Regions from separate parts of the Homo sapiens genome. Here all the other regions are linked to region 1. The links are contacts of gene promoters, found by promoter capture Hi-C in blood cells and fetal thymus (Javierre and others, 2016). All regions are on one chromosome and are shown on one strand. Each heading gives the region's core, a stretch centred on a gene start or on the middle of the fragment in contact. The rest is flanking DNA. Distances are from core to core; before and after follow the strand shown.

The links. Contacts are between HindIII fragments. The CHiCAGO score rates a contact against its expected background, and 5 or more counts as called.
Region 2: a fragment that was not itself captured here is called in contact with the fragment with the promoter of TG in region 1 in 1 of 17 cell types (non-activated CD4 T cells); the score reaches 5.1 in non-activated CD4 T cells.
Region 3: a contact is called between a fragment that was not itself captured here and the fragment with the promoter of TG in region 1, in 14 of 17 cell types (activated CD4 T cells, non-activated CD4 T cells, M0 macrophages and 11 more). The highest score is 11.0, in activated CD4 T cells.
Region 4: a fragment that was not itself captured here is called in contact with the fragment with the promoter of TG in region 1 in 16 of 17 cell types (activated CD4 T cells, total CD8 T cells, naive B cells and 13 more); the score reaches 29.0 in activated CD4 T cells.
Region 5: a contact is called between a fragment that was not itself captured here and the fragment with the promoter of TG in region 1, in 4 of 17 cell types (activated CD4 T cells, total CD4 T cells, total CD8 T cells and 1 more). The highest score is 8.0, in activated CD4 T cells.
Region 6: a contact is called between a fragment that was not itself captured here and the fragment with the promoter of TG in region 1, in 17 of 17 cell types (naive CD8 T cells, naive B cells, activated CD4 T cells and 14 more). The highest score is 20.3, in naive CD8 T cells.

Annotation. Positions count from the first base shown.
Region 1 is chr8:132,865,233-132,869,915 of GRCh38, forward strand. It overlaps TG (thyroglobulin), which reads left to right and starts at 1,726. Exons shown (of 48, transcript NM_003235.5): 1 at 1,726-1,835; 2 at 2,883-2,991; 3 at 4,497-4,594. The coding sequence starts at 1,769. The HindIII fragment of the contact is 3,355 bases long and covers 1-2,283 here.
Region 2 is chr8:133,389,734-133,394,253 of GRCh38, forward strand. It overlaps the pseudogene DPPA3P7. Among named protein-coding and RNA genes, the nearest start is that of NDRG1, 95 kb to the left of the region's middle. RefSeq lists an enhancer at 1,274-1,493. The HindIII fragment of the contact is 2,341 bases long and covers 130-2,470 here.
Region 3 is chr8:133,473,970-133,478,604 of GRCh38, forward strand. It overlaps ST3GAL1 (ST3 beta-galactoside alpha-2,3-sialyltransferase 1), which reads right to left. Exons shown (of 10, transcript NM_173344.3): 4 at 2,309-2,631; 5 at 1,750-2,105. The coding sequence starts at 2,055. Among named protein-coding and RNA genes, the nearest start is that of ST3GAL1-DT, 94 kb to the right of the region's middle. The HindIII fragment of the contact is 1,982 bases long and covers 2,375-4,356 here.
Region 4 is chr8:133,456,628-133,461,412 of GRCh38, forward strand. ST3GAL1 (ST3 beta-galactoside alpha-2,3-sialyltransferase 1) reads right to left here. Exons shown (of 10, transcript NM_173344.3): 10 at 1-3,310. The coding sequence ends at 3,137. Among named protein-coding and RNA genes, the nearest start is that of ST3GAL1-DT, 110 kb to the right of the region's middle. The HindIII fragment of the contact is 1,203 bases long and covers 1,616-2,818 here.
Region 5 is chr8:133,412,454-133,417,149 of GRCh38, forward strand. No RefSeq gene overlaps it. Among named protein-coding and RNA genes, the nearest start is that of NDRG1, 120 kb to the left of the region's middle. The HindIII fragment of the contact is 1,793 bases long and covers 1,890-3,682 here.
Region 6 is chr8:133,438,950-133,443,684 of GRCh38, forward strand. No RefSeq gene overlaps it. Among named protein-coding and RNA genes, the nearest start is that of ST3GAL1-DT, 130 kb to the right of the region's middle. The HindIII fragment of the contact is 5,719 bases long and covers 1-4,735 here.

The DNA of each region.
Region 1 (4,683 bases), core at 476-2,975:
CTCCCCCCAAATCCATATGCTGAAGTCCTAAAACCAGGACCTCAGAATGTGACCGCATTTGAAGGTAGGGTCTTTAAAGAGGTAATTAAGTGCACAATGAGGTCACAAGGATGGGCTCTAATCCAATATGACTGGTGTACTTAAAAGAAATAAATATTAAGACACAAACACACACAGGGAAGACCAAGTGAGGATACAGGGAGGAGATGGCCATCTGCAAGCCCAGGAGAGGAGTCTCCAAAGAAACCAACAGTGCTGACACTTTGATCTTGGATTTCCAGCCTTCAGAACTATGAGAAAATAAATTTCTGTTACTTAAGCCACCCAGTCTGTGATAGTTTGTGATGACACCCATAGCAGACTAGTACAGTAGCTAACACTGGATACTTATTATGTGTCAAATACTGTTTTAAGCACTTTGCATATTTTAACACATTTAATATTCATAGCAACCCTATTTGTGGAAGGTAGTACAGTCTACGGCACGGCAGCTATATCGGCCCCTTTATTTTCCCCAGGGTTTGGAGTCTCTTCCACTTTCCAGCTTGTCCTCCTGCCCTTCACTCTACCCGGGACCATATCCTCCAGATTCTCACAGGTCCCTCCATCTCTCCTCAGGTGCCAGGCTCAGCAACCTGCCCTCATTACCTGCCAGTTCCTGACCCTATCTGTCACTAGCTCCTTACCTGGCTGGATTGGTCTTCTGAATACTTGCCATTCCCTGGCATGATGCTTTTGCAAAATAAGAAAATCAATAATAATAATAATAACTGCTAGTGTCTAATAAGCATGTGCTCTTCAATGTCTATTCTCTTACAACTACCTTAACAAATAGGGACATATTATTATTCTCCTTTTAACTTTGCTTTCCAGAGAAGGAGGCTGGGGCTCAGGGAGATGAGGTGAGTTTTTCCAGGTCTCACAGGAACAGGACTGAAGGAAGGAAGCCATGTTTGCCAGGAGAAACCAAATGGACATACAGGCTTTCTGTGGAATACACAGTTCCTGCTATCTTTTGGTTGACAAAGTCTGAGGTCCTAGGAAAGAGAGGAAAGTAATAGAAATATGAATATGAGTGTGTGTGTATTTTGCTTCCCTCACCAAAGTTTTCACAGTCTATATTAATGAGGGCACGATTTTGCCTGTTTTGTTCTCTGCCATATCCTCATTGTCTAGATTAGGTGCCTGCTACTGTGGAGCTCTAAGAGGTTGTTAGAGAAAGAATAGAAGAAAGAAAAGAAGGAAGGAAGGAAAGAAGGAAGAAAGAAAAGAAAGAGGGAAGGAAGGAAAGAAAGAAGGAAGAATGAAAGGAAAGAAGGATAGAAGGGAGAAAGGAAGGAAAGAAGAAAGAAAGGAAGAAAGGAAAGAAGGAAGGAGGAAGGAGAAGGAGAAAGGGTAGGGTGGGGAAGGAAAGAACAAAGGATTGCTTTTCCCTCACTGTGGGCTTGAGCCTGTTCCCTCCAAAGATACAGAGCTTTGGTCTTTACCCATAAAAAAGGATTTTGAAGTCACCCCACCCCGTTCTGTTCCCCCACAGTTTAGACAAGATCCTCATGCTCCACTGGCCACACGAGTGCCCTCAGGAGGAGTAGACACAGGTGGAGGGAGCTCCTTTTGACCAGCAGAGAAAACAGGATGGGGCACTGCCTCACTGAGGACCTGGGGGTGGGAAGGAAAGTGCCAACGGCAGCTCTATAAAAGCTCCCTGGCCAGGGGACCTAGGGCAAGCAGTGGTTTCTCCTCCTTCCTCCCAGGAAGGGCCAGGAAAATGGCCCTGGTCCTGGAGATCTTCACCCTGCTGGCCTCCATCTGCTGGGTGTCGGCCAATATCTTCGGTAAGTTCTGAGGCCATGGAGCCAGGCGGTGGGGAGGGAGCTCCAGTGTCAGCCAGGCTCTGCCCTGGGCCTTCGAACAGGTGCGATCTAATTTAATCTTCACAAATTCCCACATGTCAGTGATTTGCTTTTTTTTTTTCAGATGAAGAGGCAGATTTAGAGAGCCGAACTGAATTACTTGAGGTCACAGAGCTAGTGATTGATGGAGCAGAAATGGGAAATGTGGTTGATCTTCCTAATTCAATTCTAGGTCCTCCTCACCCCACCATTTTGGCAAACTTTTGGCATTGACCTTGGGTTTTTATCCCCTTAGCTATTCCAAAGTCTGTGTCATCCATAACAGGTATTTTAGAAGCAGTAGAAAAAGAAATCTACCTATGAAGTGAAATAGCCCTAAGTTCTGTCTTTGGCTCAGCCACTTACCCATATGACTTCGGGCAAAGTGCCAAGCTTCTGTTTTTTTTTTTTTTTTTTCATTTAAAAAGTAAACAAATAACACACACCTCATGATGCGGTTGTGATTTCTGGGTAGGACCCTATGTGTTACAAGAGTTCTCAATGGAAAAATAAGTCATGTACATTATTAATTAATTGGTATTTCAATGTTTATCTGGAACATGTTACATCTGCAGGGCATGGCTTGATAGATTCAAGAAGAACTTCCTTACGGTTCTCTAACTTACTCCAAATAGCCTCATGGGAATTGCGGCAGGGTGGGGGCGGGCGGGGAACGTGTAGTCCCAGCGTTGATTTTGGGATCCTTCACTTGCCAGTTACGTGACTTTGGGCAGACGACTTTCGCTGCCTGAGACTTGGTGCCTCATGAGTGACAAGGATATATTGCCTGTCACCTCTTAGGAGAATGTTGCACATTAAATGAGCTAATGTCATACTTGTAAGAAAGTGTGCTTAGCTGCCAAATTTTAAAATAGGCTGTCATAGGTAATGATGATGACCCTGGAAAAGCATCTGTGCTTATGAGAGCCCGTCTCTGTCCTGGCAGCCCAGTCCACACTCTTCTTTGATGAACCACTTTTCTTTTCCTAGAGTACCAGGTGGATGCCCAGCCCCTTCGTCCCTGTGAGCTGCAGAGGGAAACGGCCTTTCTGAAGCAAGCAGACTACGTGCCCCAGTGTGCAGAGGATGGCAGCTTCCAGTAAGGCTTATGTCAGCAGCGAACTCTCAAGGTCCAAGATGCCATAAAAAGCATCTTGTGCCTTCCCCCCTCTTCCTGAGCTCTGCCCTGCAACTCCTTTGTGCATGTGAGGCTTGGCCACTGTCATTTGGAGGTGCCTGCCTTTCAGTTCCACTGTCATTTGGAGGTGCCTGCCTTTCAGTTCCCCAAGCTGTTCAACACTGGACAATCTGACCAAGTGAACCCCAATCCATGCTTCATCCTCCCACTGCCCTCCCTTCTCTTCTTGCCATCACTTTTTCTGTGATGGCTTGAATAAACGGCACGTGTGGGGAGTGGGGCAGGTTGAGGAGAGTGTCAAATGATCTGTGCTTTGGGACCTCTCCCTCCTCCAAGTATCCTCTTGAGAAGCTGGGGTGGTGGAAGCAGAGGCTGCCTTGACTTCCTAGTCCTTAGCTGCCACCGACCCTGCCCGGACTAGCTCTCTAGGCTGCCTCTGGGCTTCTGGGTCGCTGTCTCCACATTGAGCTGCTCTCTGAAAGGGGTTTCTCCAGCTGCCCTAATGCAGACTTGGGGCCTGAGACCCTCTCTGTGGAGAGTGTGGTAATAATCTAGACAATTCTTCCCTGCAGAATAGACAGGAATCCTTTGCAATGTGCATGCATTGAAATTTCCTTGTGCTATTCCAGTCATGTTGAATCAGGGGAACTCCATTTATATAACTGCGTTCTGGGAAATGTCTGTGAAACCTCCCTCCCTGCTGCTATCTTATGTACACTCTTAATGTGCCTAACCTCCCACGAGTGTGCAGAGATGCTGCTAGAGCAGTCCCTGCTTAGATCACTGGGAATTCTGGAACAGCAAGGAAGGAGTTAAGGAGGAAGTCTCACTTTCACCAGCCTTATTTATATTCCCATTCCCAACTCTCTTGTTCTGGCCTCTTGCAGTTTCAAACCTGGCCTCTCTTCAGGAGGCTTTGCATATGCTGTTCCCTTTACCTGGAATATCTTTTACCTTCTTATACCTCTGACCATCCTGCAGGTCTCAGTTCAGTCATCATTTCTGGGGAGTCAACTCTATGGCCTGGCCTGACCCCACCCATGTGCTTCCCAATATACCCTGCTGGCCCCTGATCCCACTAACATCCCACCCCCAAGCCCCCACTCCCTATCCATACAATGTGGGCACTGCCTTTACCCTCTGCAGCCTCATAATGCCTGAGGACACTTGGTGGATGTGGCTGAAGCCCTGCACTCCAGGGTGGGTCACTTGTTTTGGGGCTGGCAGGCTGGACAGGTGGTGAATGAATGGCTGGGGCAGGAGGCAGAGCAGGTGCTAGCCAGGCAGGAAAAGTGGGGCCTTTCCTTTCCCAGGTCAGCCACCCTTCTCCACTCCACTCTCTCCCTAATTTAAACGAACCAAAACTTGCAAGAATGGAAATGAAGAAGAAAAGTAGCCTGAGTGGGAGCCGGCATGTGGCTTTGGGGGCCCATCCCAGGGTCACCTGGTCTGTGTCTCCTCCTCAGGACTGTCCAGTGCCAGAACGACGGCCGCTCCTGCTGGTGTGTGGGTGCCAACGGCAGTGAAGTGCTGGGCAGCAGGCAGCCAGGACGGCCTGTGGCTTGTAAGTGGGAGTGGGGGACGTCCCTTGGAGGGACCCTGCTAGGACAACTCACTTCCAGGAATGAGCACTGGGTTTGGGTGGGTGACTGA
Region 2 (4,520 bases), core at 50-2,549, 520 kb after region 1:
AGAAGTTCTGCCTTCTTCTCTGCGACTCCAGAGGAGAGGACTACAGCCTTGGTTGGGATTTAGAGGGGACAAACAGAGATCTAATATGGAGCAGACTTCATGGAGGGGAGCTCATGTATTTCTGAGAAAAGCTTGTGTTTCAGGGACTACAGTGTATCTCTGGTGGTATAGAGAGACTAAGAATCCAGCCCCAGGTTAGCTCAGGACGAAGGAATGCAATATCTTCTTGCATCTGTTTCTGTCCTGTCTAAAATTGTAAGTGCTGTAAGGAAAATACCCAAGGCACTCATGTTTCCCCACACAGCAGGCAGCAGGCAGCAGGCAGCAGACTGCATCTTGATTGGGATAATATTATTCTGTAGGTTCCTTCCATGATTTCCTCATAAATTCACCCTCATGAAAATCCAAGAGGAGCTCAGTGTTTATGTAAGACCCTGAGCTTATTCTTCTTCCTCTTATGAAGTTAGATTAAATTAGTTAAGAAATGAAGAAAAAAGAATTTAAAAAAATTTCATCTCCTTTTCTCTGCATGAGTAAGTATGTTTGCATGAAAAATAACAAAATGAATCAAGGAAGGAAGAAAGAAAAAAAGGAAAGAAAGATGGATTCATGTTGCTGGGAAATGAATACATCTTAAGGAGAAAAATAGGCTGGCATGGTAAGCCTACCCACTGGATAATATCCATCAGAGATCAGGCAGCTGGAGAAGCACCAGTATTCACTTTCCTGTTCTCAGCTTAATGATCTGGTTAGGGAATATAGCCTCCATCAAATCTGGGATTCTAGAATCATACATGAATTGCTGTTTTTTTCCTCCCTCCTGAAAATGACCCTAGAGATTGCCCCCACAGGATTTAGAATCACGCGCACCTGGATTTCAATACTGGCTGTGCTTCTTGGTGACAAGACTTTGGGAAAGCCGTGTCATCCCTCTGAATCTTGGCTCCTCCTCTTGTGAAAGGGAAGGAGCAGTCACACCTCTCCATGAGATCATGTGAGGGTGAAATGAGATTGCATGTGAAATGCTCAGGAAATGAGCTTGGCTCATGATAAGTGCTTTTATACAAAGTTATTTCCTTCCTCTCTTTTAAGAAACTTTCCTAATTGGATTTTTTAAATTGTGAAATACTTTTCATTGTATTTAGCTAAACAGTAGAAAGTCTGTTTCAAAAAAAAGTTGATAAACTTTTTGTGGCAGGGAATGCTATTTGGCCATCCAACATCCATTATCCATTTCTGGGTTAGTAATAAAACTCTTATATTATCTGGGCTGCCCAAACGCTGTAGCATACAACATGATACAATACAATGTAACACAGTTACTGTGGCCAGCTAAAATAAAACTACATTTCCCAGTTTCCTTTGCAGTTAGGTGTGGTTGGTGGGACTTCTGGGATAGCTCCCTAAAAGAGGCATAAACTATTTCTTCCATGCTCCTGCCCGGGCATGATGTTGCAAGCACTGACTGTCATCTTAGACCACAGGTGGCTTGAGGATGGAAGGCCGTGGTTAAGGGCAGTGGAATAGAAAGGCAGACAGAGCCTGAGTGATGACCTAGAGCTACAGCCATATTAGTTCAGGACCATCTATTTCTGAACTTCCTTTACAAGAGAAAACTAAACTTCCTCTTTACTCAGCCACTTATTTTGGGGATTTCTGTTGTAGGAACCTGAATCTAATTATAACTGATGACACGTCTTTTCCTTCTAGTCCCCCCTCTTGACATAACAGGCATTAACAATTGCGTTTTTCTACACGTTTTTTTATGTTCATAGCAAAGATATTTTTATGTACACACCTGTATAAAATGGTATCATGCTCTATACCATACTTTTTCATTGCTTAGTAATATACATATCAAGGTAAAATTCCCAGATCAGGGTATGTAGATTTCTAACCTAATCCTTTTAACATTAGGCTATAAAATTATAGTATGGATGCATCGTAGTTTATTTTTTTTAAGTTACTCAAATATGTCAATTTTATTGTTTCTCTATACACACATTTATTTGATACTGAATATTGCAAAAAAAAAAATAGCACATCAAATTTCCTTTCATTGGTATCCAAATTTTTGAAAACCGGAAAATCTAATTATTATGCTCTAGCCAAACTACCCAATGTTTTCATTACATTCTTTCCCCACAAGTTACTTTGCATCAAATTCTTGATATTGGGTTTCATCTCACTGACTTTAGCCTTCTAAAATACATGGGAATACTTATGTCCTTTTCGTATTTCTTCGGGTCAAAACAGTGAGTAAAGGTAAAGTATACTGAGGTTATCCAAATACATTCAAACTACATACACTACATACATTACTGATTTCATGGTAGGAAGGAAAAAAAAGAAGAAAAATATATCATAGAACTCATTATCAAAATTATTTGTATACAATCCATTCTAGCATAGAGTAGCTTTCTCAACCTGCTACATAAAATTGCCAGCAAGAAAGAAAAGTATGAGAATAAGCTTTCTGGCTGAATTGGCTCAGTGCCATAATTCCCTATTCTAGCATTCTCAGAAGAATCCCATCTATGATACACATAGAAACCACAGCCACATTTGAATGGTTCACTTCTTGATCATTCTGAACTCCCTTAAGCCCAGTGTTTGTTTTCTTTCAAGCCTAGGAAGCCTGCTAAGTGACACGTATCTACATTTTAGCATCATTTCTTTCCATACAGACAGCAATGTTCTTACTCCCTCCTCCTGTAAGGTAAGCCATCTCTGATGTCCTGGAAGATCATTTCTCTTTTCTCCTATTGTTGGAGTGAACCTTCTGGTAGAGAGGAAGGGAATTTGATACCAGAGCTGAGAATCAAGTTTAAGGTTCTTTATCAATGTCTCGGAGCAGAAGTTATGAGAGGCCCTGAATTGTCCTGGGAATTTTCTTCAGTGAGCATTTTTGAAGGCTTTGGGATCAAAGTTGGGTTAAACTTCTGTGATGGGTCCATTGGCAATCTAGACACAGCACTAAGCTCCTCCTGGATCTTTGGAACCCAGCGGAAACTGATATCAGACTTTCAAATTGCCGCAAGATAGCCGGGAAAGAACTCTCTAGCCCAGAAAGAGCCTGAAAACCTGAACTCCAACAAATGGTAATGAAAGAACTGACCAGAAATTTAGGTCCCATCTCCTCTTAAAATACAGATAAGCCAATTATACATCGTAATTCATTCAATAATTGTCCTATTGCTGTACTGAGAAGGTTTCTAGTTGTTTTTCAGCTAACATAAACCTTGCTACAATAGACACATGGTACAAATAGCCTTGCCAATACTGCTTTTATTTTTTAGCACAGACGTCCACAGTGGGGTGAGTAGCTCTTTTCACTTTTACGTCTCCTCTACCCCTTCCTTTTGTAGCTGAGGCAAGAGAGGTCCTGAAAGATGGTGTGCCAAAGACAACAGAGAAATACAAAGCCAACAATGCCTCCAGAATCCTCCTGATTAGAATCTGAGGTCCACACCCCTATTTTCCTGTATTTTGTAGCAGTAAATATTTGTTGAAAGAATATGCTAGTAATCTCTATTAAAAGCTGTTCCACCAACTCTGCTTAAACATATCTGATGAAAAAGAGAGTATCAACTGCTAGAATGTTCTTCCTACATTGCGTTGCAATCTAATTTCTTGAAACTTCCACTTGCTAGTCTCTGTTCTGACTTCTGGGGTACTGGAGAACTGATCTACTTCCCCAAAGGACAGGTAGGACTCACGAAGGCAGGCACTTGGTGATAAAGGCATTGAGGATTGTCTCTTTGGGGCGCTCCACACTTCTCACATGTGGAGTGTATGCTACTGGTTAGGCAAGGAGCATGGGTCTGAGGATGGAAAGAAGAATAAGACATGGTCTTTGACCTCAAGGTAGTTACTATCCAGGGTTTGGGGGACAACTCACAGAGGTGTAGCTCATCCTCTGACAAACTCAGCTTTGGGGTGACCTGAGAACCCAGAATAATGGCCACAGGGCACTACTTGAGGAATGTTCAGAGGGGGGAGGGGGATGTTTGGAGGGAGGAGAGGAAAGCATGCTGGTGGGGCTAAAAGGTCATTTGAGAGAAATAACTGGAAATAAAGTTGGATGAGGAAGAGGGCAGCCTGTTCTCACCCAAAGGAAGAAATCAATTCTGCTATAAGTGATTTGCTTTTTCTGGAAATACTCCTTACTCAAAAGCACAAAAAGTCACATTCTCATGAGTCCCTCTCTCTCTCTCTCTCTGAGAGAATTTAGAAAAGAAACTGAAAGAGCACAGGCTCTATCTGCTTTTCCCTCCCAACATTCTAAGAAAGTCTGCTTGACTTGGTCATTACTAAGAGACATTACAGCAATTAAATTTTCCTCTTATTAAAACATTAGGTAATTTGGTGGCAAAATAAAAGTTAAAAAAATGAATGGTTGAAATCTATAGAAATTAAATCTTAAACAGCAAAAGGCAAGCAGGCAGTCCTTTGGTGTAGAAAAAGCATGAGGTATAAAGCAGGGGGCATTGAGTTGGAATACTAACTCTGTCACCTGT
Region 3 (4,635 bases), core at 2,116-4,615, 610 kb after region 1:
GGTTCTCTGTTACCTCCCCAGAGCCCACCCCAGGACCTGCACACAGTGGTGCTCAACACAGATTAGCAAACCAGGACTCAGCCAGGTCTTTGGAAGCATAGCCCAGGGCTTTTGACCTTTCTAAGTCTCACACATGTTTTCTGTTCATTTCAAATAGACCTTCCCCAGAATCTACCTGGATAACCTCTCTGAATCCTTCATGATGAACCTGGCCATCACTCCTGTAGGAAGCCTTCTGCGATAACCCCAGGCTCCAAGGGGAGTTGGACATGAAGACCATCGCTCCTGTGCCCACTTCCTGCACAGCACCTATGGTCCTGGCTTGAGTTTGTCTGTTTTCCCTTCTCTCCCCATCACTCCTGCAACCCAAGAAAGGAAAGACTCTATCTTTTCCATCTCAATGTAGTGATGCTTGGCATATAGTAGGTGCTCAATAAATAAGACATGAACACATATATCTTGCTCTTCTTCGATCTATTTTGCATTTAACATGGGAATGACCTTTCAAATGACAAGATCAGATCATGAAACCCCCTGACAAAAATTCTACAGTGATTTCCTGTTGCACTTACAAGAAATCCCAGAGTCCTCCCCTGGGTCTTGCTGACTCTCAGGCCTCGTCTCACTGCACCTCCCCTGATTTACAGCCCCCCAGCCATGCAGAGCTCCTCTACTCCCCATTACATCCAGCAGAGGCCACCCTCGGGCTCTTGCACCCGCTGTCCCAGACACCTGCAGTGCATGGTCCTGCTCTTCTCATGGCTGCTGCCTTCTCTGCCTGTGGGTCTCAACTTGAGTCCTGCTGTCTCAGAGACCTCCCTGGTGACCCCATTTACAGAAGCCCCCTCTAAGTTTCTATGACAAACCTCATTGGATCTGTCTTCAAAGCACTTCTGTGTGAGCCTACCTTGTTTATTTCTTATCTTCCCCTCCCAGCCAGAATAAAATTCCATGAGAATAAGGATCTCTCTCTCTTTTTGCATTTCAATAGCTGTAGTGGGTGAAATAGTGGCTCCCAAAAAGATACGTTCAAGTGCTAGTCACCGGAATCTGTGAGCATGACATTTGGAAAAAGCGCCTCTGTGGGTGAAATTGTTGAGGATCTCTGCATGAGATCATCCTGGATTAGGGTGGGCCCTAAACCTGATGACAGGTGTCCTCATAAGAAAAGGAGAGGGACATGTGAGACATAAAGGGATACAGGGAGGAAGGCCCTGTGGAAGTGGAGGCAGAGGCTGGACTGCTGCAGCTCTGAGCCCAGGAACGCCCAGCACTGCCGGCAGCTGGCAGGAGCCAGGAGCGGGCCTGGGGCGGCTTCCCCCTCAGAGCCTCCAGGAGGAGCCAAGTCTGCCCATAATTTGTTTTCAGACTTCTGGCCTCCAGAGCTGCAAGAGGATGCACTTTTGGTGTTTTGAGCCATGAATTGTGCAGAAATTTGTTATGGCAGCCACAGGAAACTAAAGCCGTGCTTCCTGCTCTGACTTAGATATAATAGATCCTCAATAAATAGTGTGGGACAATAATCTGAATCCTACTAACTGCCTGGCAGGGCCCCAGGTGTACACGGGGACTGAGCATTTAACTCTGAGAGCACCTCACTCTCATTACCAGACCCCTACCCTCAGCCCAGACTCCCACTTTCAGCCCAGGCCTCCCACTCTTATCCAGATCCCCACTCTCAGCCCAGACCCCACTCTCAGTCCACACCCCAACTCTCAGCCCAGACCCCGCTCTCAGGCAGCATCTCACCAGCCACCATCGGTAGGTGTCGTCCTCCAAGAGCGCGTTCTGGGCGGTCAGCAGCGGCTGCATGGTCTGGTTGAACCTCTCATCGAACCAGGCCGAGAGCTTGCGCTGCCCGATGCAGTGGGTGCAGGTGCAAGGCCTGTGCTTGATCAGTCTCTTCAGGTTCTCGGAGAGCTCCAGGACCATCTGCTTGGGGAACCAGGTGGTGGCCACCATGGTGTGGGAGTAGTTCAGGAAGAAGGAGGTGAGGAAGATGAAGAGCACGAGGAAGGTGAGCACTTTCAGGGTCCTCTTCCGCAGGGTCACCATCTTCGCAGTCCTGATGGTGGCCTCCCACGATGGGTAGCAGGAACTCCCTCCTAAGAGAGGAGAAAAATGGAAGAAAAATCCCAGAGGTGGAGGCTCAATCAAAAGGGATGGCAGGAATTCCAAGGGAGGACACAAGGGCCGCTAAGCTCGACTTCACTCCTGCTGGGGGATGACCCCCAACTGTGTCCCAGACACGGCTGTGTGGTAGACCAACGCCATTCGTGGCATGTTGGCTTTGCTTGCATATATTTACCTTTTCAGAAAATAAAGTAGCCTATTCTTCTGCAATCCTTAAAGAGCTGATAATGTCTCTCGATCAAGCTTTAACCAGTGATTTCCTTTCACATCCAAAGAAGATAAGGGGTCATTAATCTCTGTGACAGTCCAGGGTCCCTCAGGAGCGAGGACCTCGAAGGAAGGGTGTTGGTATAGCGGGGAGGGAAACTGTCTCTGCCGTCCTCCTCCAACTGTGGTTTCTGACGATCCTTAATTAGGGCTTTTTCTTTCCCATCCTGTCGCCAGGGACATGGTGGGTACACAACCAGCTTGATGAAGGCACAGAAGGTTGTCTGTCATCTGCAAAGAAAAGGAGGAAGAAAACAGCGTGAGATTCTGTGATCCTGCTATAAAAAATGTTTCTCTCCACATCTCCACCAGGACGTATTCCGTGGTCTTCCTTCTGGTGTCATGCCAACCTGGCAGGTGGCTCTGGATGGTTTATCTACCTTTGTGAGCCTGAGTGCGTGCATACAATGGATGTTATCATCTCTTTGCAAGGTTATTATGGGATGCAGAAGGTGTCCCCTCCATGTTTCCAACAAGAACCTAGCACATTGACACACTCAACAAACATTTGTCAAAGAGCTCGTGATGCATGTAGGTACAATATACACAGGAATTGTTAAATGCATGTTATTTGCCTTTCTCTCTACTTCATTCTCTTCCAGATTTTGGATTTCAGCAACAAGCACAACAACAATGGTATGCTTAGAGAGTGGCCCAGGGTTCCTTTTACCTGGGCATTCAAGCTCTGCCAATTGGCCTCAGTTCCATAAAAAGGGGCTTTAGATGGTCCAGGTTCAAGTTCTGATTTCCCAGCTGTGGAGCCTTGGGAAAGTTATTTGACCTTCCTGACCCTCAGTTTCTTCTTCTGCAAAGTGGGATACTAACACCCCTACTTATAGAATGGTTATGAAGATAAGATAAAATGATGTATGCTGGGCTTCTGGTATCTATTAGGCCATTGCTGAACTTTAATTTTTCTTCTTCAACATGTGAATGAATCAATATTCTCTGATGATCCACTAAGAGCTGAGAGGATGAGATATTCATGCATACGTATCTCTTCAGATAATCCTCAGAATATACTGTCAGCTAGATATTAGTTTCCCTTTTTGTCTTGGAAGAAACTGAGACTCAAAGTGCTTAGATGACTTGCCTAAGGAAAGGAAGGAGCAGGATCCGAGTCCAAATCCACAGTCCTCTGATTCCTTACATCGGGAGGGGTTGGGGGACCAGGAACAGGGGGTTGGGGGGCTCTACCCTGGAGCAGACACCTGTCTTGTTAACTGGTCTTCAGATTACTACGGCTGGAGGGATATAGAGCAAGGGGGGAGTATTCTTTTGAAGAAGGCAAACAGGTACCTCTCAAATGCCCATCGGAGACCCCTCTGGCTCTCACCGACACCTTGGGATTTCTGTATGGTACAACTGTGGTTGCACGTCTGCCCTGGAGCGTGGTCTTTTTGGTCTTTGCTTGGAATGCTGAAGAATGGAAGAAATCTGATCGATTCCTCCCCATTCTCAAGGTGTAGATTGTCAATAAGCAGGGTATATTTTTTTCCAGGAAAATTAGAGTTGAAAGGAGATTGATCACCTTTTGGTAGAAAGGGGGACAGCTCCAAAACCATATTAAATCCACAGTGCCCTTCTGAAGACATCCAGGGCCCAAGATGCATAGGGTGCAACCCTCTACAGCTTCCAGAACTAGAAGCCCAACGTATGGAGGACAAGGTCTGAGCTCTGCAGCTCAGTTGGCAACGTCATTTTTATCCGGTCTCTGCTCCAGTTTTCACTTTTCATGACAACCTAGATTTTGTTTATAACCTAGTGGTGTCCACAGGTATCCCATCCAATTCTCTCCCCACCTGCCCCCATCAAGGAGCAGCTCTGTAATTTAAGTAAGAATAACTTCTGCATCATCACAGATAGGCTCACAATTCACTTGACTGGCAGAGGGTTCCCACCTCTTACCCCAGTAATTGATCCAGGGATGGGCATGTGCCTTAATTCATCCAGCCAAGCTTCTGTAGGGAGGGAAGAAACTTTCTTTTGCTCTGGCTGGCTTGTTGTTGACATGTGGAACATCCTGCTGGCTATTTTGCTAGCGTGTGTAGAAGAGACTAGAGCTGAACAACCCGAACAAATGGTGCTAAATCCCTGATCCTGCTCAACCTGCAGCCCCACCCTCACCTTGACTTTTCAGTTACATGAGGGAATAAATCCCCTTTATGGGGTAAAGTAGGTTATTTGTAACTTGAAGCAATGTGACTGACCCAGAGGTCACAGTTGCTCCTACCT
Region 4 (4,785 bases), core at 967-3,466, 590 kb after region 1:
GCATTTAATTCTGGCTGCAACAACTGGATTCTGTTAAGTGCCCATTGCTAAGCCAATGAGCTATCTGCTGGGCTGTGGGAAAGAGAAATGCAGTCTCCTGCACGGGAGGGTGTGAGAAGGCCACCCAGGCAGCCTGCAGCTAGAGCTCGGCGCTGAGAGAGCACAGGAGAGTCAGACACCTCCATTCTGGTTACACTTTTTCCAGATGCTGAATGGAGACTCGCTGGGAAAGCCCGCCTCCAGACAATTTCAACATAGCGCCGGTAACACCCTAGTTTTGCTCAAACTCTGACTTGTGCTATCTGTCCCAGACAGTTCACGACTGCCCGTCACTTCCCTCCTTCACACTGCACCAGGAAAAGGCCACACCTCCCTACACAGCAGCAGCCTTTTAGGAAATGTGCTCTACAGGAAAAGTGGTTTTTCTGATTAAACATCAGGAACTAGAGTCAACAATCGCTGTCCTCTCCCGTGCCTGTCACGCTCCACTCCCCACCCAGCTGCAATGTGGCCTTGATTTTCTCATCAGTAAAATGGGAAAGCTGGATTTGGAGGCTGGAAGAGATCTCACAGCTTGACCACCCTAGTAGGAGGGAGGGAGACCAGACGGAGGCCAGGCAACCGACCCAGGCAGCATCTGGCTCAGACGCAGACACATCTTCATGTTGAGGGACCTATTCTTACACAGCAAAACCCAGAGAAGTCGACTGCTCAGCCTGAGCCTGTCATCCCTATATAGACTCAGCTTTTAGGAGAAGAGGGAGAGTTGAGGAGATAGCATCGCTCTCTGTATCAGTGTCTGATGATCTGGAGTCTGCCCCTGGGGTCACTCAGTCACTCAACAAACATTTGTTGAGCTCTTAACGTCATATATGGGTGTGAGCTCTGCCCTTCGAGGCTGTATGTTCTGAATGATGACTCAGTGATTTACCAGCCTTTCTCAGAAAAAAGAAAAGTCTTTAAAGTTTTGGAGGATTTTAAAGCTGAAACAGGTTTTCGGTTTGTTTAACACATTCCCCATTCTGAACCTTTGAGAATCTAATAAAAGCTATGGTCCTTTCTCCAGAAAAATGCTCATATGCAGAGATTCAGGGAAAAAACCAAACTTGGCACGCAACTTCCGGGGACTCTTGTGAATGGCCTGAAGCCACCTGTGACCCATGACTGATGTCCCCAAGTTCCTCCCTCCCCGTGTGCAGAGGGGGCTCCCCCGAGCCTGGGAGCACAGGCCCCATGCCTCCGTCACACTCCACCAGGAAAAAGTCACGCCTCCTCAAAGCAGCAGCGACCTTTTCAGGGATATTTTCAACAAGAAAGTGGTTTTTCTGCTTAAACATTAGTAACTGGAGCCAACAATCACCGTCCCCCACATTCCTGTCACTCTCCACTCCACACCCAGCAGCAATAAGGTTTCACGGAGTTTTGGAGACTCCTAGCCTGAGAATAAATCCAAGTCCACAATGAGGAAGAAGGAAGGTTGGGTTGGGACGGGAGGATGCTGAGGACATTCCACAAACCATCCAAGCCCTAGATACCCCCAATATCCCACGTCCGAGGACTCCTACAAACCTCCCTTAAGCACCCCCACCTAATTTCCCAGCTACTGGGTGAGGCAAGCTTCATTAAAACACCAGGACCACCAACAGAGCCAGGGTGCAAACAATGTCAGTTGAATAAAAAAAAGAAATCAATAAATAATCAGGAAGGCTAATGAGGAAAAGAGAGTAGCTGGGGAGTAAGAAGATGAGGTATGTGGCAGTTACCATTCCTGGGATGTCCTTGACCCAGACCCCCAGTGACAGCCCCAAGATGGCCAGCAGGGACTTGACCCTGAGCTCAGGCCCTTGGGGAAAATGCTGCTGGCAGCCTCCTGTGTGGCTTTGGAGGTTACGGGCACCATATTGAACAGTCTGAGAATGAGAATGTACGTTCCATTCTGACGCACTGCTGGGTGGTGTTGAGTATCCTCAGAGCTTCGTTGCAATTCAGGTGCTGGCTCAGGAAACCAGAAAAGATGTTCCCAGCTACGGAGCAAGCAGGGCCGCTGGTGGGGGTCCCTTTTCCCAAGTAAGGGCTTTTGTTTCATTTCAGCCAATGCATGCTTTTCTTTCCCAAATACAAAGGCACATGGAAGTGGTCAGATCCGCTCTCGCCACGATTAGAACCATGAGACTGACTACTCAAAGGAACAACTGCTTGGGAAGAGGCATCTGCAGGAGTCAGAAACACGGTGCCAAGTTTGGGGTTTTTTTTCTTTTCTTTTTTTTTTTTTTTCAGAGACAGGGTCTCACTCTGTTGCCCAGGCTGGAGTGCAGTGGTGTGATCACAGCCCACTGCAGCCTCGAACTCCTAGGCACAAGAGATCCTCCCTCCTCAGCCTCCCTAGTAGCTGGGGCTACAAGTGTGTGCCACCGTGCCTGGCTAATTTTTTTAAATCTTTTATTTTTGTAGAGACAGGAGTCTCACTATGTTGCCCAGGCTGGTCTTGAACTCCTGGGCTCAAGTGATCCTCCCGCCTCGGCCTCCCAAAGTGTTCAGATTACAGGTGTGAGCCACGGCACCTGGCCTCAAGTTTCTGTGAAAATCTTTGGGGTAGGAGCCTCTGGTGGCTCATAAATGAGCTTTGGGAAGATGACAGGGTTATCACGCCAAGCAAGAGGCCAGGCTTCGTGCAAAGAAGGGCAGCATCTCGCCCCGAGCGCCAACACCGCCTGGCACGTCTCTGTGCTGGAGGTAATCGCCACTCAAGTCTCTGCCCATCTTCCTGGGAAACTGTCCTGTCTCTCAGAATATAGGCATCTTCCACATTCATTCCCCAAGCTTGCCCCAGGAGCCAAAATGATTTTAGTGTGTGGAGGTTGAACCTTTCCCAGCGTCTCCCCAGCTCTAGGGCAGCAGTGGGGGGACGTTGTCCCCACTCAAGACAGGTTCCAAGACATGCTCTGCCACGCTGGCAGAGCTTAGTGACCTTGCTGAGTAGATGCTGCCAACGGCTGGGTGCAAGAGGCTGTGAGCGGTGCCCAGGCACACACCTGAGGCTGCCCCTCCAAGCTCCGGGATGGAACGGCTCCAGCAAGATGCTGGGGCTGGAAATGCAGAGGTGTGACAGTGCGTCCATCCTCAGCCCTTCACTGCGTCATCTCCCCTTGAAGATCCGGATTTTATTGATGGAGGCCAAGGTGGCCGTCACGTTAGACTCAAAGTCTGCATCGTGCACCCCCGTCTTGCGAAAAGCCCCCGCGGATGGGTTGTTCTCCCAGTAGTGGTGCCAGTTCCCTTTGCTGTCTGCCCCGAAGCCGTACAAGTCCACCTGTGGGAGCAAAGCAAAGATGAGAACCAGACAGCAGGGCTGCTGGTGGCACCTCTGAGAAAGGAAGCCTGTAGGCGTTCCTGGAATCCCACAGGACCATAAACAGCATTTCCAAGGACTCTGACTAACCCTTCATTAAAAACCCTTCTCTACGTTCCTGGAACTCTCAGAGTCTTGGTGAAGCAAATGCAAGTTAAGTAAAACTCAAGTCTAATTCCAGAAGCACCCTGAGAGATTACTGCATCTGGGTGGTCTCAGGGGCCCGGGTCTTACCTCTGCAGCAAGTGCAACCTATTCTCCCAGGATTGAGGAGCTACAGAGGGAAGGAATAGGAAGGAGGGCGTGGAATGGAAGAGAGTGGAAGGAGAGCAGGGCTTTGGGGCCAAGCAAACTGCCCCAAATCCCAGCTCTGCCACTCCGTGGTGCCCTGGGCATGTGAAGTCACTTCTTTGAGCCTCACTTTCCTCATCTGGAAAATGGGTCCAAGAATCATGATTGCAGTGAGGCAGAGGGCAGGGCTGATCCCTTTCTTCTCTGTGGCCAACATTCATCTGGTCCAGGCGCCCTCAGGGCCACTAGACCAGGCCTTTCACATACATGACAAACCCTGTGCATTTATTCTGAGCCCAGCACCCTGCTGGCTGTACTGAAGTTCAGGCAGAGCTTGATCAGATGCCAGCTGGGCAGCTGCAGGGGGAAGCAGCCTTGGAGCTTATAGCTTCTTGGAGTCACTGACTGAGTGGTCCTTGTTGGAAATGGGGCTAAATTCAGGGCTCCCGCAGCACAGAGGAGGGAGGAGCTATGCCCTGAGAGGTCAGAGGAAGCTCTTCAGAGGAGGTGGCATGTGAGTTGGGTCTTGGAAAATGAGTACAAGATGACCAGAAGGAATTGCATGGAGGGGCTTCCAGGGAGAGGACGTGCTATCTGGGCTGCAGCGTGGAAGATAGATTGGAGGGGTGGGGACAAAGAGGGGACGGGGACAGCACCATGCCACATGTGGCTTTCTCAGGAAATGCAACATGGACATGGGCCTGCTCCAGGGCAAGAACGTTAGGGCCAAATCGGTGGGACGATGGGAGAAAGGGCTCTTGAGCAGAACCTCAAGCAAGGGTCTGGGACCAGCTGGCTGGAGGTGGGTGGGGTGGGGAAATGACAGGGGCACCCATGTTTCTACCTGGGAACACCAGGGTGGGGCTGAGCCTGGGGACCTGCCTTGCAATGCCTCTGACCCTTTCTGAGATTCCCACCAGGCACCAGGCAGGGTGGGGCTGGGGCTGGGCTGAATGAGACAAGAAGGGACACGTGAGGGCCCTGCCTGAACCCAACATCAGGGAGGAAGTGGGGGCTGTGTGGCCTGCCCTCCTGCCCCTCTTCCTGGGGTGGCAGCAAACCTCTCAGAGCATAAGTGGAAACCCGAACACAGCCTAGCGGACAGCGAAGGACATGGGAAGGCAAATGCATGCTTCTCGAGATCA
Region 5 (4,696 bases), core at 1,536-4,035, 550 kb after region 1:
AGCCACGTGAGATGTCTCTAGCTCCTGATCCACTTTGGATTTCCTGTCCTCCAACCCTTTCCTCTGCCCACCATGCCAAGCCCATGAAGATGATAGAGAGCAATGGTTACATGGGCACGCGTTAATGGTCATAATCCCAGTTCTTCCATCTCCTAGCAGTGTGGTCTTGGACACATGACTTAACCTCACTGGGCCTTTGTTTCATCATTGCTCTGATGAGGAAAATAATATACCTCCTTCTTAAGGGCAGGGGTAAGTTTAAATGAATTTTTATAGGTAGGTCTTAGAACAGTGCCTGGTATGTGTTATATGATATTCTAGTTGCTATCTCATTTCTTTAGCTAAGAAAATATTTTCCGGTATTTCAAAACTCCATTCAAATGTTAATTCTTCCATGGAAACTTCTTTGAATTCTGCTATTTCACCTTCTGTTCTGCCAATGTTTGCTTCATATATCTAGAATCGCTCATGTTTGGTACACAAATATTTATAATTGTTATGTCTTACTGCTGAATTGACCCCATTATCACTATATAATGTCTTTCTTTTTTTCTCCTGTGTCAATATTTGATTTAATGTCTGTTTTGTCTGATATTAGTAAACTATCCCTACTCTCTTTGGGTTACAATTTGCATAAAATATATTTCTCTATCCTTTTACTTTCAGCCTATGTGTGTCCTTAAGAGCTTAAGTGAGTCTCTTATAGGCAGCATATTATTAGATCCTATTCTAAAAATATCTGTTCGGTCCATCTATGTCTTTTGGTTAGGGAGTTTAATCTATGTGGAACCTTCTTTAACCATCCCTTTCACTGTGAGAGCTCTTGGTGCCCTCAGAGCCTGCACATCTCCCAGCATGGCACTTGAGCTACTAGACTGTTGTATTTGTTTAATCTCAATATTTCATTTAAGTCTGTGGCTCTTTGAGAACAGGAATTTTGCCATTTCTCCAGCCACTTAGTATAGTGCCTGGCATTTAGCAGCCACTCCATGCATTTTATTAAACAAACACTATAGATGAGAATAATAGTAGCTAATATTTATTGAACACTTGGACTAGGTGCAGTGTGCAGCTCTTTACTTACATTATTTATTTCAATTCTTACCACAAACTTACAAAATAGAGACTATGATTATCTCTATTTTACACATAAGGAAACTCAAGTTCAAAGGAGTAAAGGGAATTTTGAAATTTACCCAAATGGAAAATAGCAGACCAGGATTCAAGTCCAGGTCAGCCAATTCCAAGACTGAGTTTTTAACCCACCTCACCTTTGCATCAGTTAGCATTAGGGGTTGCTGCATGTAACAGAAAACCCCAAGTTGTAGTTTCCTAGACAGGAGGAAAGTTATTTCTCTCTTATGCAAATGAAGCCCAGAGGAATGCAGCCCAGGCTGGCCTGGCCACACAGCAGTTTCACCAGGAGCCCAAGTTTCTGTTTTCTGTGTGCCTCCCTCAGTATATAGCTTCTGTCTTCGAGGTGTCATGGCCCAAGATGGCCTATATAGCTTATATAGCTCCAGTGAAACATGTATTAAGCACTGTTCTAAGCCCTACTGATAACATCCACATTCCACATCAACGACAGGGTGGGGCAGGTGAGAAGGGGCACTCTTTCCCTTCAAGGTAAATTGCTGGAAGTTTTATGCACAATTTTTATTGCTGTATAAGAAATTACCAAAACCTAACAACTTAACATGCCTGTATTACATCAGGTTCTGTGAGTTAGGAGTCTAGGCATGGCCTAGCTGGGCTCTCTACTTCAGGTTCTCATGAAGCTGAAATCCAGGTGACTTTGGCTGTGTTCTCATCAGAGGCTCAACTGGGGAAGCGCCTAGCATAATAATAGACTAGTAAGAAATCCACTCCTTTAAAACAGCAAGGATGCAAGCTTTTGCCTATCATACTAAGTTTACATTTATGTATGCCTGCTGCATTAGCACATCTCAACACACCTATTCTGTCTTTGGCATCCTTAATTTTTGTAGAGGCTGTCTCATCAGTTATAGTCAATATTTTTCTGGGCAATAACACAAAAACCAGGATGTTTCTTCAGTATATTCTTCTTCACAGACTTGTTCTGGCATCAGGTTTTTATTGGAAATGGCCTTGGCAAACTCATCAATTAATTTCTCTGTTGCTTCATCATCAGCAGATGCTTTATCATTACAAATCATTAAAAATTTAATGTCATGTCTTTTCTCCAAATTCTGCAACCATTTTGTTGAATTATCACAGTTTCCTTCGATTTGCAGTTCACTGGGATTGATGTTTGCTTGTTTCACGATCACCATACTATTAAGTGGCATGTGTTCACTGCAATGCTGAGAGATCCACTTTTTTCAAAACATAACTGAGACCTTCATTTTCAGCTTGATGCTAAAAATTTAGTGTTTTTCTATTTTTTTAATGTATGTTCATCATTTTCAGCATAGAACTTTAATGACTTATCATCTTGTTTCTTCAGGTTCTATATGGTGGACATTACAACACTACAGTCTTCTATAAGACGTTTCACACTTACACCATTGTCTAGTTTCTCCAACAGCTTTGACTTTCTGTGCTATAAGCATAAATGCTTTCTCTTTTTCTTATCATTCTTATCCATAGGGGTATCTGGAGGCCTTGTTGACATTTTCATCAATGTCTTTACACTACAGAGCAGAAAATAAGCAAATAAACCATGAGTAATGCATGATGGTCTTGGCCCCATGTGGTGCATCATGGAGAATCTGCTGCTGGTGCCTCCAGCCTGCACACATGTCAGGTAATTATCCTTTGTGTGCTTGCTTTCATGAGAAAATCTGGGCATACTCAGAAAAGATACATCATGGCTAAACAGGGCTGGGAGGATCTTTTTTCCCTTGGGGACACTGAAGAAACTATGTGTTGTGTGCCTGAGTTTTGACTGTGACCCATCATATGAGGTCAAGTGTAGCATTTTTTAATTTGTGGCATCATATTGACACTCAAAATGTTTTGGATTTTGGAGCATTTCCAATTTTGGATTTTCAGGTTAGGGATGTTCAACCTGTATAACAGCAACAACAAAGATGCATTAGGTTAAAAAAATAGGGCAGAGAACTGTATGTACAAAATGACCTCAATCATGTAAAACATATGTGCAATAAAAATAATATGAAAGATAAATTACAAAAATAATTACAATGTTTATATTTGGCTGATGAGATTCCAGGTGCATTTTCTTCCTTCTTTGCATATTTTTATGTTTCCTATATTTTACCTAATTGGCAAGGATTACTTCTAGTGTCATAAAAATGGAGGAGAAAGACAGACATCCACTTGCACTGACGGGGAACTGCATGAGTGGGACATGGTTGCAGTGGCAGCTGGCTTCAGGGCTCCCTCTGTCAAGCTGAAAAATGAGCATTCCTCCCAGAAAACCATCACCTAGCAAGGGGGGAGGGTCTCTGAGCCCATTAGGCTAGAGTTACTCTTCCCATTGCATCCAAAATGATCAGAAGTGGAAGAGTTGTTTTGAGGCTGGGACAGGATGATATGCAATCCATCAGGGCCCATATGATGCTCACCCATAGGCAACAGCAACCTAGGAAAAATTCTCTGCATCCTGCCTGCAGCTGATGCTGTCAATGTCCTGTCTAGATGCCCTCAGCGGCCTGTTGCTTCCTTCCCAAAGCACCTGCATGTATGTCTGAGCAGAAGCTTGCTCGTCCTGTGCAGAGAGCAGACCAGAGGAGCCCTGGAGTCCAGGAGCAGCCCGTAGACAATGACAGATAGGATTTGGTGGATACACGTCCAGCTCTTTCACCCACCAGTGCTGAGTCAAGCTCTCTGCTGTCTCCCAGAGACACCCAATAGGACTGAGCCATGGTGCTCACAGTTGTGACTGCTCGTTGGTGCATTCTGCATCGGCGTTCTCTTCCCTGCCTCACTTTCTTGCTCCTGGTGCTTCCTGAGATCATTTCCTGAGTAAACTATGGCCACATATCCCTGTGTTAGAGTCTGATTCTTGGGTAGCTCAACCTAAGATTTCACACCTCTCGCTGGCTCTGCTGCAGCCTCGTAAACATTCTTAGCTCCTCATATATCTTACCCCAGGGACACAGGAAAGGCAACTGTCAGCATAGGACATAGAGGTGGAGAGAACGCCAGAAATAGGCTAATGATGAACACTGAGTTCATTCAAATGTTGAAGTAGTTCAAAACAAACGTGAGACTCATGGCTCGGAAACAGACTGCAAGTAATTTTAAAAATCACTAATAAAAAGTACAATAACTAGGTGATGGAAACAGAGGAATATTATAAACATAGGTAGGGGCACAGGCTTTCTCATTTTACGTAGTGCGAACTTAATGCCACTGCTTGACATTGGAGCATGTAGCCAAAATCAAGAAAAGAAAAAAGAAATGCAACCTCAATGTTTTTCCTATTGACATATATTTTTAGTAGAAAAAATATTCAGAAAATAGCATCTTTTGCTGTACAAATTTTTATCAAGTTCCGCATTCTCTTGAATTTCATTGATATTTCCTTTTCTTCATTTTAATTTAAAATTTGAAGGGATACTCTAGTGATCTAGAGTATCTCATTTTTGTCAAAGTACTTCTATTATTAATTCAACGCCTATGTATTCGGCACCTCCTCTGTGCCGTGTGCTGTTCTAGATGCTGGAGATGCCTCAGGGAAGAAGGCAGACAGCCGTTCTCTCTCCAG
Region 6 (4,735 bases), core at 1,067-3,566, 570 kb after region 1:
ACCTGGCTTCTTATACTCTGTATGATGTTCTTGGGGCTCCTCCACACTGCGGCATGTACTTCATTCCTGTTTATGGCTGAATAATATTCCATCTTATGGTACAGTCGGCCCTACCTATTTGTAGATTCTGTATCTATGGATGCAACCAACCACAGATTGAAAATATTTGACAAATTTTCATCTGTGCTACATACGTACAGACATATTTTCTTGTCATTATGCCCTAAACAATATGGTATAACAGCTATTTAAATAATATTTACATTGTATTAGGTATTATAAGTAACCTAGAGATGATTTAAAGTATACAGGGGGATGAGCATAGATCACAATATATGCAAATACTACAGCTGTTTATATCAGGGACTCAAGAATTTGCTAATTTGAGTATCCATGGATTTTGTTTTTATGGATTTTGGTATCCGAGAAGCACTTCCCCACAGAAACTGGGTGATGACTGTATATGCCATAATTTGTTTATCCATTCTTCTATTGGCCATTTTGATTGTTGCCACATTTTGGCTATTGTGAATAGTGTATGTGTTTATTTAAGTACCTGTTTCCTATTATTTGGGGTTTATGCCTAGGAGTAGAATTGCTGGGTCATATGGGTAACTCTATGTTTAACTTTTTGAACTTCATGTTTAACAGCCAAACAGAAGCTGCACAATTTTACATTACCACCAGCAATGCACAAAGACTCCAATTTCTCCACATCCTCACCAACACTTGTTAGTTTCCATCTTTTCTATTATAGCTATTCTAGTGGGTGTGAAGTGTTACCTCAGTGTAGTTTTGATTTGTATTTTCCTAATGACTCATATGTTGAACATCTTTTTAATTACTTGTCATCCATTTATATATCTTTTTTGGTGAAATGACTATTGACACCTTTTGCCCATTTTGAATTGCCTTTTTATTGTTGAGTTTCAAGAGTTCTTTATGTATTCAGGATATTGGGCCCTTATTATGATTTGCAAATATTTTCTCCCATTCTTCAGGTTGTCTTTTAAAAAATGATTTATAATGCTAGTTAGAAATAATTTTAAAAAGTTGTGTAGTAGTAGCTTTTGTATTGCCTTACTTACTGTTTGTTATTTATTTATTTAGGACACTAGCTATGTTCTAGCAACTGTGCTAAGAGCTTTACATGCCCTTCCCTTCCCTCCCTCCCTCCCTCTCTCTCTCTTTCTTGTCTCTCTTTCTTTCTATTTCTTTTTCTTTTTTTGAGACAGCGTCTCACTTTGTCATCCAGGCTAGAGTGCAGTGGCATGATCATGGCTCACTGCAGCCTCAGCCTCCTGGGATCAAGTGATCCTCCTGCTTCAGCCTCCCAAAACATTTACATGTATTTTATAATTTATTCTGGAGGTACAGTCATTTTTACTTTAAAGAGGCGGAAATGAAGGAGCAGAAGGGCTTTGCATGTGTTTTTCTGCCTGCCTGGACATCCTTCTCTGGCCTCTTCACTTGGCTAACTACTGCTGTCTTCCCATCTCACCCAGCCCTTCTGTCTCCTTCCATCAGCCTGGGCTTCCTCTAGCAGTGAGAGGTGTCTTCTGGGTCCCTGAGGCATCCTGCCCCCTTCCTATCAGGCTTGTTCATTCAATGATAATGTTCCCCCACTAAGCACCCACCAACCCCCCGACTCCCTGACTGCCAGGACCAAGGGCCTCTCTCTGTGTTCCATAACACCACATGCAGTGCAGTGCACAGTGAATGTTCAATAAGGTGTATCTCCTAGATGAAGGTGCTCACTGCTGTTGAAGGGGATTGGGAAATGTTTCAGTGTGGAGAGTAATGGTTATAGAATAACAAGCCAATAAATAAAATCCAAAAAATACATCACCCTCTATTATTGCAATTCTGTTAAAATACACCTGCATATATAAGGAGGGGGGAAGAAGGAACCACCTACTGGGTTCTTAACTCTCCCGCCCTCCAGGCTTTCCCTCCCTTCCTCTCTCCTCCCCTCCTCACCTCTCCTTTTCTCTCTTTTCTTCTCTTTCTTTCCTTTCCTCTTTCTTTCTTTCTTTTCTTTCTTTCTCTTTCTTTCTTTCTTTCTTTTTTTCTTTCTTTCTTCCTTTCCTTTCTTTTCTTTCTTCCTTTCTTTCTCTTTCTTTTTCTTTCTTTTCTTTTTCTTTTCTTTCTCTCTCTCTTTTTTCAAAAAGAAAGAGGAATGGCCTTGTATTTCTGTAAGAGAATCCAGTTAGAACTTCTGGAGCTTTTGGGCTCTTTTGGGATGCCCAGGTGGCTATTGGTGAGGCATCTCAGACTGCCCTCTTTTGAACAATAGAGCTGGCCGTCCTCGAAGCTATTGGGTGCCCACTGCCCACCTGGGGGAGGGGGGCATTGAACCTGGGAGTGCAGCTAACCCCTGACCAAGTCTTTGTGACAAAAAAAAAAAAAAAAGCCCCAGAGCTTGAACTTGAACTTGGGTCTTCCTTCCCTTCCCTCCTTCCTTCCTTCCTTTTTCTTTCTTCCTTCCTTCTTTCTTTCTTTCTTTCTTTCTTTCTTTCTCTCTCTCTCTCTTTCTTTCTTTCCCTCCCTCCCTTCTTTCCTTCCTTCCTTTCCCTCCCTCTCTCTCTCTCTCTCCTTCCTTCCTTTTTTTTTTTTTTTTTTTTTTTGAGACAGGGTCTCACTCTGTCACCCAGACTGGAGTGCAATGGGATGATCTCAGCTCACCGCAACCTCTGCCTCCTGGGTTCAAGTGGTTCTCCTGCCTCAGCCTCCCAAGTCGCTGGGATTCCAGGCATGTGCCACCATGCCCAGCTAATTTTTGTATTTTTAGTAGAGATGAGATTTCACCATGTTGGCCAGGCTGATCTCGAACTCCTGACCTCAAACGATCCACCCGCCTCAGCCTCCCAAATTGCTGGGATTACAGGCATGAGTGACCGCGCCCGGCCGGGCCTTTCTATTATAAATTGATTCAGTCCAAACCAGTTCAATTCCTCACACACATTATGTGCCTGAACCGGTCTCTCCCCTCATCTCTGGGGATCCAGGGTAGTCCTGGTTTTGCAGGATCTCCAGGCCATCTGGGGAGACACATGCTTCCTCCCTTAATCCCAATACGAGTCAGACTGTCTGGAGAGTGTGAGAAGTAGGCTGGACACTGCACCTGGGCTCCCTCATCCTAAGTCTCGGGGTGGAGTGGAGGCAGATATTTCACTGCCAGAGCCCGTGCTGACTTAGTTGCTCCTTGTGGGATGTTGCTTAACTGAGAGCAAGAATGCAAAGACATTTTTAAAATGTGCATGTTATTCAAATACACGTTCAACTACCACTCCAATGTTTTTCTTTGTGATGGCCCTTAAGATTTCCCTGTTGGCCTCACTCTGCACCCTTTGGTGGCCCCCAGTTTTCTTGGGATAAAGCCCATTTTTCCTAAAAGACCCAAAGGGGCCTGGATCCTGCACCCCTGCTCCCATCTTTTGCCACTGCTTCCCTTGTTCCCAGGGTCACTGGTACGAAGATCATCTGCCTTGTGATTGTGCCCTACTCTCCCTCAGCACTGGGACTTCACAGTGCTCTTCCCTCTGCCTGGCACACTCTCTTCCCCATTCCGTGCTTGGCTAACTCTTATCCCTCACATGTCAGCCTAATGGCCTCTTCCTCCTGGAAGTCCTCCTCCTCCTGGAAGTCCTCCATGACTTCTCTAGGCAAACTCAGGCTCTGTACTCTTCCTTGGTCACTTGTCACACTGTCTTCTGGTGGCTAGTTTGGCCATCTCCATTGGGAGAATGCAAGGATTTTATCAGGGCAGTAAGAGCCTCTGACAGCTATTACAGTGCTGAGACCAATGAACTTGGCTGGAATGAATAGATGTGGTAGCTATCCCCAGGTTCTTGTGGGGCATCTGAATCCTCAGGTAAGGGCCAAACCAACTGTTATCTACCCCAGAGGTTGCAGCCAAGACTGAGGCACTCATGTGCAGGGAGGTTGTTGGTGGTTGCAGGAGGCAAGTCCCCTTCTTAGCTGACAGCTCTCCAGCCTCCTTTCCACTGTCCTCAAGCCAATGGGCTCTTGTCCATCCAGTCCATTCACACAGGACAGAATTGAGATCACCCGAATACTGCTGCCCTCGCCCCACCCCCCACCAGGCCCAGCTCAGGAAGCATGCAGCCTATTTCCTCCTCTGCCTCTTCTGTTGGGGTAACGAAATGCTTGCCAACCCCTGTGGCATCCCACTACCCTGGATTACCAAGTCTGGTCACATGTGGGCTCCAGAGAGAAAGAGAAGATGTCAGCTATACCTCCATCTTCTGCTTCTGCTGGGGTTCCGCTATGCTGCTGGAAGACACCTGGGCTTTGAGATCCAGCAGATGTGGTCTTGCTCACAGCCCTGCCACACACTGGCTCTGTGAATTTGGGAAGTTATTGAGCCTTCTGAGTCTTGTTTTTTTTTCATTTTTCATCTCATGAACAATGTCACTGCTGCCACTGCCACCTCCACCGCCACCACATAGTGAGCTTGGTGCTCGCTATGCAACAAGCACCGACCATTCTTCACTTCATCCTCACAACAACCCTCTGAATCCCTATTTCCATCATCTAAGGGAGGGAACAGATATCCACCGAGAGCATACTATGCACTGAGGTGAGGTACCAAGAACCTCATGCGCTGGCACAGGACAGGTAAGACAGAAAACGGCAATGGGCTGGAACAGTGAGAGAAAACCACATGGCATCTTGTGGAGGATGATCTCATAGATTATAGGGATGGATTGAA